Regions from separate parts of the Homo sapiens genome. Here all the other regions are linked to region 1. Evidence: promoter capture Hi-C in human tissues and cell types (Jung and others, 2019). All regions are on one chromosome and are shown on one strand. The core of a region is centred on a gene start or on the middle of the fragment in contact, and the rest is flanking DNA. Distances in the headings are between cores, read along the strand shown.

Region 1 (2,687 bases), core at 73-2,572:
ACCACACCTGGCTAATTTTTGTATTTTTAGTAGCGATGGGGTTTCCCCATATTGGCCAGGCTGGTCTCGAACTCTTGACCTCAGGTGATCCGCCCGGCCTCAGCCTCCCAAAGTGCTGGGATTACAGGCCTGAGCCACCACACCCGGCCCAGTCTATTCTTCAGACAGTTGCCGGGACTTTTCCAAAGTGTAGTCAACACCTCAGGTAAACTAGTCCCAATTTACCCATTCCTGCTCTCTCCTCCCAGTCCTATTCCCTGTACTACTTCTGAATCTTTGCACATATCTGTCCTTCTACCTGTTAAACTTATTCATCCTTCCCAACCTGGCTCAAATATGAAGCTTTCACATCACTTATCTTTGGCAGAGTTGGTGGTTATGCCCCTTGGCCTTCGTAGCATTGGCTATAAAATCTGTTTACATGTCTGTCTCCCCAGCCAGGCTGTATTTGTATTCCTAGTGACTGTCAGGAACAACTGCCTGGAAGGCAGGGATGTCACCTAGGCATCTCTTCATCGTCCCCTCCCTCCCAGCAGAAATCTGTCTGTGGGGGGTGCTAAGTAAAAAGATATGAATATATGCAGAGGGACAAAAAGGAAAAGATAACAAGGAGGGCTCGGTCAAGGATCTGAATCCCCCACGGTCCTTATGACAATATCACACAAATCCAGGCTTGGATAATAACGACTGTATCACACAGATCCAGGCTTAGAAAAGCAACAACTGTCAACTGTTAAACGCTTATTCTGTGCTAGGACCTGTGCTATGTAAGCGCTTTACTTGCATCGTTATTCCACTTAATCCCTTCCACAACTCCGTAAGCACCATTAACTCCACTTTGCAGACAGGGGAACTGAGGTTCAGAGGGGCAAAAAGCCTGGCCCAAGCTTGTGACACAGCCAGCCTGGGGGCACAGGGGCAATTCGAACCCCAGCCCTCTACCCAGTCCTCACCCCTGTTTCTGGAGCCTAGACCCCTGGCACGGCAGATACGTCTCTAATGGGGTCGGTAAGGGGGACTGCCCTCGGGTTTCATTTCACCCGGGAGGAGGTCGCAGCGCCCTCGGGGACCCCCAGTGTCCACGGTCGGGGCCGGGGCTGCGGCGGGTCGAGCTGGGCCGACGGGTACGACGCCGAAGAGATTAGTGCGGCGGCGGGCGGGGCCACATCAGAGGACAAGTCTGTGACTTCCTGACGCCCGTCCAGTCCGGAACCTCCGTACCTGAAACACAAGGCCACGGGTCGCTCTCCACAGCCCCAGGTCACTCCTGGACGCCTTGCGCACCCGCAGCCGATACTCCCTGATCAGGGTGAAGCGGTCTCCACCTTCTACGTCACGGTCACCGCCTCCGAAACTCCCGCCAACCAAGGGCGCATGCGCGGCCGTCAGTTTCTCGGGCACGCGCGCGCAGAACGCCTGCCTCCGGCGATGCACATGCGTACACCGCCGCCCGACGCGCATGCGTACACCGCCGTCCAACGCTCCTGCCAGCTCCGCTCCTCTAGTCCAAGTCCTTTAGGTCCTGTCTGGCCACGTCACCACCTCCCCGCAACACCCCGCCCGGGAGTCCCTTTCCGGGACCCGCCACACTATCGTGTCCTTTTGCGCCCGACGGCCCCAGAGCCCATCTAAGATGGGGGAAACAGAGGCCCGGAGAGATTCTTGCCGGAGGAATACAGCGCCTCAAAGGGCATCTGATGCCCTGTCCCCGTCGCTAGGCTCTGGTTCCCACTCCCTTTATCTCCTTAACTCCCAAAATGTGGACCGTGACTCTCCCCAGGGTGGACTGGAGCTCTGAGCTCAGTTTGCCTCACAGTCTATCCCACTCCTGCTCTAGGACTTTTTCTCTCTCATTTCCAGGCCACTCCCTCAAACGGCTTGCTTTACTTGCTTGGTGGGTGGGGGCCTGCCCTCGGGTTTCATTTCACCCGGGAGGAGGTCGCAGCGCCCCCAAGTGGTCGCAGTGTCCTTAGTCGGGGTCGGGGGGTGCGGCAGGTCGGGCTGGTCCTTAGGGGTAGGACGGGGACAGGGCATCAGATGCCCTTTGAGGCGCTATATTCCCAGGCGCTGTTCCCTCTGCCTGGGAAGGCTTTCCCTGCTTTTCCTAGCTACATCCTCCAATTTTTTTGTATTTTGAGACGGAGTCTCGCTCTGTCGCCCAGGCTAGAGTGCAGTGGCGCGATCTCGGCTCCCGGCAACCTCCGCCTCCCGGGTTCGGGTTCAAGCGATTCTCCTGCCTCAGCCTCCCGAGTAGCTGGGATTACAGGCGCCCACCACCACGCCTGGCTAATTTTTGTATTTTTAGTAGAGACGGCCACTAAAAATGTTGGCCAGGCTGGTCGCGAACTCCTGACCTCAAGTGATCCACCCACTTCGGCCTCCCAAAGAGCTGGGATTACAGGCATGAGCCACTGCGCCCGGCCACATCCTCGAATTTTAAGCCTCAGCTAAGGAATGATTGATTTCTCTCCAAGCATTCTCTCTGGCCTTAGGCTGAAAACCAACTGTCCTTTCTGTGCTCCCAGGAGCCCAATCTGTTCCTGCTCCACTATCCCATGCTGGTCTAGGAGGCTCCAGAGAGCGGGCTGCTTCCTCAGCACCCAGCACGACGCCACCAAAATGTCCCCTTGGATGTGCACAGTCCTTTCTTTCACAGAAAAACTTCCAAATATTGAATTATAAGCAGC
Region 2 (2,687 bases), core at 108-2,607, 230 kb before region 1:
TCTCAAATGGTTGGGGGTAGGAATAAATAAATATAAATGTATGTACATGTATTATATATATGTATATGTATATGGAAAGCAAGAAGAAAATATAATAAAACCCAATGGTAACAAATGGAGAATCTAGATGAAGCTATACAGGGTTCTTTGCACAGTTCTTCTAACTTTATCCTAAGTCTGAAATCATTTCAAAATAAAGTTTTTAAAAATTAATCTGTCCAAAATAGAGTTTCTTATCCCCAAACTGCTCCACACAGCAAACCCATCATAGAAAATGGCAGCTCTTTCTCGTTGCTCACATCAAAACTCTGAGAGTCCACCCTAACTCTTTTCTTTCACACCCATTCCCATGCCCCAGCAGATCCTACCGGCTGCACCTCGGAAATAGTTTTAGCACTTGTCCCTCGGCCTCCCCGCTAGTCCGGATCAGCCTGATCCTTGCTGGGTCGCTCCTCACAGGTCCCCTGCTCGTGGACTCGGCCCCCTCTGCGCTATTTTCAACACATCACCCAGAAGGATTCCGTCAAAACCCAAGCCAGGTCGTCACCCCCTGCTCGGAACCCTCCGACACCCCACATGGCCTACAGGGAGCCACAGAGGGGTCCCTGCTGCTTCTCAGCCCCTCCGGCTCCCGCCCCCATCCTCCTGACCTCCTGCTGCCGGCGACCCCAAGCCCGGGAGCCCTCACGGCGGGGCGCACCCCTGCACCTCCTGTCTGCCCAATGTCACTGCCCAGAGCACCCTGCGGAACAGCCCACGCTCCCCCCAGGTCCCCTTCTCCTTTGAGGCCCCAGGCCGCGGAGCTACTTGTTCATCGTGTTTCCCTCCACGAAACCAGTGCTTCCCGAGTGGTTCCTTCAACCCCGCTCTGGCGGGCGACCGCTGATGTGGACAGAGCGAGTCACCGGGCGTAGGGGTCCCTGGGAGCCCCCCCACCCACCGCCTCTGCCCTCCCCACGTCGAGAGCCGTTGCCCGTCAGGGGAAGCTGCACTCCCACGGCCCATACAAGTGGGAGGCCTCTGGGGAAGCGGCCCTGGACATTCCGTTTGCCTCTCTGGAGGGGAAGGGGTGGCCCAGAGCGAACCCCCACACCCCCTCTCCCATTGCCTGCTCACCCCATCACCTCCCCTCCCTACAAGGCCCTCTGTGCAGCCCGGGCTGGCACAGCAAGGAAGGGGGGCTCACCCCAGAGCGCCCCCGCCTGCCAGCCCGTGGGTCGAGGCCAAATAAGGCCGGACGGCAGCCGAGGGCCCCCGCACCCCGCCCGCGGCCCCGCCCCGCGCACATTCTTCTGCCTTGTAAGGCCCGGCCGCCACGCCCCGCCCCCGCCTGGAGTCCAGACCCGACGGCCGGCCCAGTTCCACGCACCCAGCGAGCCCAAGCGCCTTCTCCGCACCAGGTGGGATCCGGGGCCCCGGGGGTCTTGAGGACAGGCCTAACGGCCCAGGGCTGGAGATGAGAGGTGGCCCGGGCCCGACCCGGCTGTCACGGGGGGCAAAGGCGGGCCCCACGGACTGGGACGTGGTAGGGTCTGTTGGGCACGGACTGAGGGGTGAGCTGGGGCAGCGAGTTTGCTGGGGGCCGACAGGGACTCTGGCCAGGGGCCGGGCAGCAGGAAGGCTGTTCTGGCCTCTGAGAAGCAGTGGTCCTGCGGCAAGGGAAGGCCATCGTCCAGGCCCTGCCCCTTTGCTGAGGAGCTGGAGATGCCAAGCCCAGAGCTCCGGGGGGGGCTGGGGAGCCCGGGTACAAGGGTGCTGGGGAGAGGGTTGCAGTCGTCAGTTCCCCCTGGCCCAGTAAAGGCATGTGTGTCACAGATGGAGAAACAGCCCTGTGGGACTCCACGCCCCCACAGCATCTGTGTCCCCTCCCCATCTCCCATCCCTACACCCTGGGCCAGGGGAAAGGGACCGAGACCAGGGGGCCCTTCCGACACAGCCAGTGCTGTATGCAGGGACCCGGGCCTTCCCCTCTCTGGGTCATCTCGCCTGTGGGTGGGGAAGGTCTGCGGAGGGCCCTGATGGACTCACCCCTAGGGGGCAGGACGAGGACTAGTGGCTGGGAGAACCTGATCCCTGCTCTTCCCAGCCCTCCAGCTGCTCTAAGGAGGAGACTCAGATGAGGTGCACTGAGAAGGAGGCATCTGGCCTGCCCAGCTCCAGGGGCTGGAGGTCATGGGGGCACTGCCCTGTGCTGGCTTCAGCCCAGCCTTTTCTGTTATGGTGGGAATCTGGACACCAGGATGGGGGACATGGCATCCAGTCACATCCAGGCCAAGTATCAGTGCTGACCCCTGGTGTCTAGGGCACCTGAAGGGGGAAGCGATGGCCTCAGAACTAAAGGCCCCACCCATGCCTGCCCCTCGCCCCTCCACCAGTTCTAGAAGGCGCCTCTGGATACACAGAGCCCTTTCCCACTCCACTGCCACAGGCCCGCCTGAGGACTGGGGCTCCCTGTTTTGTTCAAGCCTCGAGGGCACCAGCAGCCAAGTTTGCTCTCCACTGACCCAAACCTAGCCCAGGAATCCTGTCTTCCAGGTGGCCCCTCCCCCTCTCATGGGCACTCCACTCCCCTTCTGGGGCCTCTTTTCCTAGCTGCACCATGGGGGCACCCCTGCCTCCGCTCACCACTTCCCACAATTGCTGGGGTGGACATGGCGGCCTTGTGCAAGCCCTTAAGTACAGTGCTC
Region 3 (2,687 bases), core at 93-2,592, 210 kb before region 1:
CACCTGAGCCACCCAAAGTGCCGGGATTACAGGCATAAGCCACCATGCCAGGGCCACATTATTCTTAAGTGGACATGGTACATTCTCCAGGAAAGACCATATGCTAGGTCATAAAACAAACCTCAATTAATTTAAAAGGACTCAAATAATACAAAGTGTGTTCTCTGAGGACACTATAATGAAATTAGAAATTTGGGAAACATGGGAAACTCACAAATATGTGAAATATGTGGAAATTAAACAACATACTCTAAATAATGAATGATTCGAAGAAGAAATCCAAAGGGGAATTAGAAAATATTATGAAATGAATAAAAAGGCTTAAAACTTATGAAATGCAGCTAAAGCAGTGCTTGAAGGAAAATTCATAGCTATCAATGCCTTTTTATTCCTTTGAGACAGTGTCTCGCTTTATTGCCCACACTGGAGTGCAGTCATGCAATCAGGGTTCACTGCAGCCTCACACCCCTGGGCTCAAACAATCCTCCCACCTCAGCCTTTGGAATGGCTGAAACTACAGGCAAAAGCCACCAACACCTGGCTTAATTTTTTATTTTTCGTAGGGATGGGGTCTTGTTACATTGCCCAGGCTGGTCTCAAACCCCTGAGCTCAAGCGACCCGCGTCTCAGCCTCCCAAAGTGCTGGTATGAGCCACCATGCCTGGCCATATGTGCCTATTTTTTTTATTATTTTTTATTTATTAATTTTTTTTTGAGACAAAGTCTTGCTCTGTCACCCAGGCTGGAGTGCAATGGCGCAGGCTGGGCTCACTGCAACCTCTGCCTCTCAGGTTTCAGCGATTCTCCTGCCTCAGCCTCCTGAGTAGCTGGGATTACAGGCATGTGCTACCATGCCCAGCTAATTTTCTATTTTTAGAGGCGAGGTTTCACTATGTTGGCCAGGCTGGTCTTGAACTCCTGACCTCAGGTGATCCGCCCAACCTCGGCCTCCCAAAATGCTGGGATTACAGGCATGAGCCACCACACCTGGCCCATATGTGCCTATTTAAAAAAAAAATGAAGATTGTAGGCCGGGCACGGTGGCTCACGCCTGTAATCCCAGCACTTTGGGAGGCTGAGGCAGGCGGATCACGAGGTCAGGAGATTGAGACCATCCTGGCTAACACGGTGAAACCCCGTCTCTACTAAAAATACAAAAAATTAGCCAGGTGTGGTGGCGGGTGCCTGTAGTCCCAGCTACTCGGGAGGCTGAGGCAGGAGAATGGCGTGAACCATGGCGGCGGAACTTGCAGTGAGCCTAGATTGCGCCACTGCACTCCAGCCTGGGGGACAGAGCTAGACTCTGTCTCAAAAGAAAAGAAAAAAGTAAATAAATAAATATAGATTGTAAATCAATAATCTAACCTTCCACTTTAAGATACCAGAAAAATTAGAAAAGAAGAGCAAAAGCAGGAGTAAGCAAAAGGAAAGAAACAATAAATGCTGGGGCAGAAATGAATGAAATAGAGAACAGAAAAACAATAGAGAAAATTGATAAAACCAAAAGTTGGTTCTTTGAAAAAAGTCAAAGCAACTGACAAACCCTCAGCTAGACTGACCAAGAAAAAAAGAAAAAAGACTTGAAATTACTAGAGTCAGAAATGGAGACGATAATATTACCATTAACCTTTCAGGAATAAAATCCTACCTCCTCCAATGACCAGTTTTATAACCTCAGGTGTTACTTAGCCCCTCTGTGCCTCCCTTATCTCTATTCTTTAATCCCAACACTTTGGGAGGCCGAGGCAGGTGGATCACTTGAGCTCAGGAGTTCAAGACCAGCTTGGGCAACACAGCGAAACCATGTCTCTACTAAAAATGCAAAAATTAGCTAGGTGTGGTGGCGGGCGCCTGTAATCTCAGCTACTTGGGAGGCTGAGACATGAGAATCACGGGAACCTGAGAGGCGGATGTTGCAGTGAGCAGAGATTGCACCACAGCGAGACTCTGTCTCAGAAAAAGAAAAAAGAAAAAAAAGCAGTGGACTCCTAGATCCTATGAAGGCTGCAACCTAGACCCGACAAGAGATCAGAAATTTATTATCCAAAGAATACAGAAGGTCCTGGACAGATGAACACCAGGCACAGGAGAGGAGAAGACAGCAACAACAGAAGGGTTACACAGAAATTCATGTACTCAGTGTTGAGGATATCCAGACCCTTAGTCTTCCTCCACTCAGCTTGGGAACACTGTCAGCAAGGCACAGAGCCCACTCAGGCCTTCATGCCGCACTAGCTCCCAGGGCCCCAGACCTTCTAGTACAATGGAAAAATGAGACTGTCAAGGCATAGCTCTCATCAAAGAAATTCCAGGCCAGGCACAGTGGCTCACACCTGTAATCCCAACATTTTGGGAGGCCAAGGCAGGCGGATCACCTGAGGTCAGGAATTTGAAACCAGGCTGGGCAACATGGTGGAACGCCATCTCTACTAAAAATACAGAAATTGGCCGGGTGCAGTGGCTCACGCCTGTAATCCCAACACTTCGGGAGGCCGAGGTGGGCAGATCACTTGAGGTCAGGAGTTCGAGACCAGCCTGGCTAACATGGTGAAACCCCATCTCTACTAAAAATACGAAAAATTAGCTGGGCGTGGTAGCCTGCGCCTATAATCCCAGCTACTCGGGAGGCTGAGGCAGGAGAATCGCCTAAACCGGGAGGCAGAGGTTGTGGTGAGTCAAGATCATGC
Region 4 (2,687 bases), core at 127-2,626, 150 kb before region 1:
CAAAAACTGAACATCACTTGCTTAACAATGAGGATAAATGTAAAATTAAAATTTATTTTAAAAATAAGAACTAAACATTGGCCAGGGACAATGGCTAATGCCTGTAATCCAAGAACTTTGGGAGGTGGAGGTGGGAGAATCACTTAAGCCCAGCCAGGAATTTGAGACAAGCCTGGATAACATGGTGAGAGTCTTTCTCTACAAAAAATTTAAAAATTAACCAGGCATGGTGGTACATGCCTGTGGTCCCAGCTACTCCAGAGGCTGAGGCAGGAGAATCGTTTGAGCCTGTGACGTTGAGGCTGCAGTGAGCCATGACTGTGCCACTACACTCCAGCCTAGCCAACAGAGGAAGACTCTGTCTCAATCAATCAATAGCTGAACATTGGCTGGGTGCGGTGGCTCACACCTGTAATCCCAGCGCTTTGGGAAGCCGAGGCAGGTGGATCACCTGAGGCCAGGAGTTCAAGACCAGCCTGGCCAACCCATGGTGGAAGTTGCAGTGAGCCAAGATCATGCCACTGCACTCTAGCCTGGGTGACAGAGCAAGACTTGATCTCAAAAAAAAAAAAAAAAATTAGCTGGGCATGGTGGCATGCGCCTGTTGTCCCAGCTACTCAGGAGGCTGAGGCAGGAGTATCTCTTGAACCCGGGAAGCAGAGGTTGTGGTGACTCAGCCTGGGCAACAGAGCGAGACTCCATCTCAAAAAAAAAAAACAAAAAACTGAAAAACCACGATCACCTGAAAAAATGCAGAAAAATCATTTGACAAAATTCAACACCCTTCATGATTAAAAAAAAAAAAAGCAGAAAACGATGAATAGAATATGTTAGTTTCCTATTGCTGGTGTAACAAATTACCATCAATTCAGCAGCTTAAAATAACACAAATTATTATTTTACAGTTCTGGAGGTTAGAAGTCTGAAATGAGTTTCACTGGACAAAAATCAAGGTGTCAGCAAGGCAATGTTCCTTTTGCAGACTCTAGAGAAGAAATCCATTCCCTTTTCCAGTTTCTAGAAGCCATATGGATCCCTCTGCTCATGGCCCCTTCCTCAGTCTTCACAGCCAGTAGCATCTTCCTGTCTCTAACTCTCACCCTCCTACCTCCCTCTCGTAAGCATCCTGGTGATTATATTGGGTCCATCTGGACAATCCAAAATAATCTTCCCACCTCAAAATCCTTAATCACATCTGCAAACTCTTTTTGCAATGTAAGGTAACATATTCACAGGTGCTGCAGATCAGGACCTGAACATTGTTGGGGGGGATGATGATTCTGCCTACCACAGAAGAGTACCTGATACAAAGCATCTGTGAAAAATCTACAGCTAAGGCTAGGTGCGGTGGCTCATGCCTGTAATCCCAACACTTTGGGAGGCCGAGGCTTGCTGATCACCTGAGGCCAGGAGTTCAAGACCAGCCTGGCCAACATGGTGAAACCCCCATCTCTACAAAAATAGAAAAATTAGCTGGGCATGATGGCGTGTGCCTGTAATCTCAGGTACTCCAGAGGCTGAGGCAAGGTATTGTTTGAACCAGGAGGCAGACGTTGCAGTGAGCCGAGATCAGGCCACTGCACTCCAGCCTGGGTGACAGAGTGACATTACATCTCAAAAAAAAAAAAAAAAAAAAAAAATCGACAGCATGCTTAATAGGAAAGATTGATTATTTTCCATCTAAGATTGGGAACAAAGCAATAATGTTCTTACCGCTTCTACTCAGTGTTGTACTAAAGGTCCTAACAAGTGCAATAACACAAGAAAAATAAATTTAAAGTATATGGATTGGAAAATAATACAGCTGCCTTTACTTACAGGTAATACAATCATATGTAGATAATCATAAGGAATCTGCCAAAAAGCTACTAGAACTAAAAGTAAATTTAGTAAGGTGACCCAGAGTCAATATGCTTTGAGAAGTGTATTGACCCCAGTAGGGTCTCTGCTTCGTTTTCTTTGTTTTCTTTGCCTGACTGGGAGCCCTTTGACCTTTGTACCTTTATTTTTTTTTTCTTTTTCTTTTTTAGAGACAGTTTCACTGTGTTGCTCAGGCAGGCCTCAAACTCCTGGGCTTGAGTGATCCTGTTGCCTCAGCCTCCCAAGTAGCTGGGGCTATAGGTGTGCACCACCACGCCTGGCCTGTATTCTGTACCTTTGAGAAGAGTCTCTTCTTGAGCTGTGCTGTAACCCTAAAAAATTCTGTGGCTGGGAATGCGCTAAATATTTGAAAATAGGCCCAGAAGGCCAACCAACCCAGCTGAACTAGTGACCAAGACCTTATAACTTTTGCATGGTTCTTGAACCACCCACCCCAGCCACTGTCACGACAGTTATTAGAATCAGAAAGGGTAGCTACACTTGGGATCTGGTTGGTGGTCTCAGGGATAAAGAGGTCAGGAGTCATCCATTCCTGATTGCTTCCTGTCTCAGCCTCACATCCAGCCCAACAGAAAGCCCTGTTGGGTGTGGTCAGAACACAGCTAAGATCCAACCACTTCTCACCTGGAGAGAGCCTACTACGGCTTCCTGCGCGGCATCCTCTCTTCTCAGCAGGAAGGAGGGGTCAGGTCGTCTCATGCCCCTACTCAGAATCCTCCCTGTCACACTTAAAATCAATCCCAAGTCCTCTCCCTGGAAAGGCTCTGTGTGACCTGACTCTAAACTCGCCACTCCCCTCATCCTGT

The links. The method cuts DNA at HindIII sites, captures the fragments that hold promoters and counts their contacts. A contact is called where the count stands out against the background at its distance.
Region 2: a contact is called between the fragment with the promoter of MYL9 here and the fragment with the promoter of DSN1 in region 1, in 5 of the 25 tissues and cell types used here (adrenal gland, aorta, lymphoblastoid cells and 2 more).
Region 3: a contact is called between a fragment that was not itself captured here and the fragment with the promoter of DSN1 in region 1, in 1 of the 25 tissues and cell types used here (spleen).
Region 4: a contact is called between a fragment that was not itself captured here and the fragment with the promoter of DSN1 in region 1, in 1 of the 25 tissues and cell types used here (mesenchymal stem cells).

Annotation. Positions count from the first base shown.
Region 1 is chr20:36,772,441-36,775,127 of GRCh38, forward strand. DSN1 (DSN1 component of MIS12 kinetochore complex) reads right to left here and starts at 1,323. Exons shown (of 11, transcript NM_001145315.2): 1 at 1,222-1,323. RefSeq lists enhancers at 1,082-1,627, 1,249-1,308, 1,439-1,578, 1,589-1,668, 1,628-2,174. The HindIII fragment of the contact is 22,977 bases long and covers 615-2,687 here.
Region 2 is chr20:36,540,162-36,542,848 of GRCh38, forward strand. It overlaps MYL9 (myosin light chain 9), which reads left to right and starts at 1,358. Exons shown (of 4, transcript NM_006097.5): 1 at 1,358-1,400. The region is part of intron 2 of DLGAP4-AS1 (DLGAP4 antisense RNA 1); the gene reads right to left. RefSeq lists a silencer at 1,179-1,378 and an enhancer at 2,159-2,687. The HindIII fragment of the contact is 24,137 bases long and covers 1-2,687 here.
Region 3 is chr20:36,565,339-36,568,025 of GRCh38, forward strand. All of the region lies in intron 2 of DLGAP4-AS1 (DLGAP4 antisense RNA 1), which reads right to left. Among named protein-coding and RNA genes, the nearest start is that of DLGAP4-AS1, 6.6 kb to the right of the region's middle. The HindIII fragment of the contact is 8,105 bases long and covers 1-2,687 here.
Region 4 is chr20:36,621,651-36,624,337 of GRCh38, forward strand. The region is part of intron 5 of SLA2 (Src like adaptor 2); the gene reads right to left. Among named protein-coding and RNA genes, the nearest start is that of RAB5IF, 17 kb to the left of the region's middle. The HindIII fragment of the contact is 9,070 bases long and covers 1-2,687 here.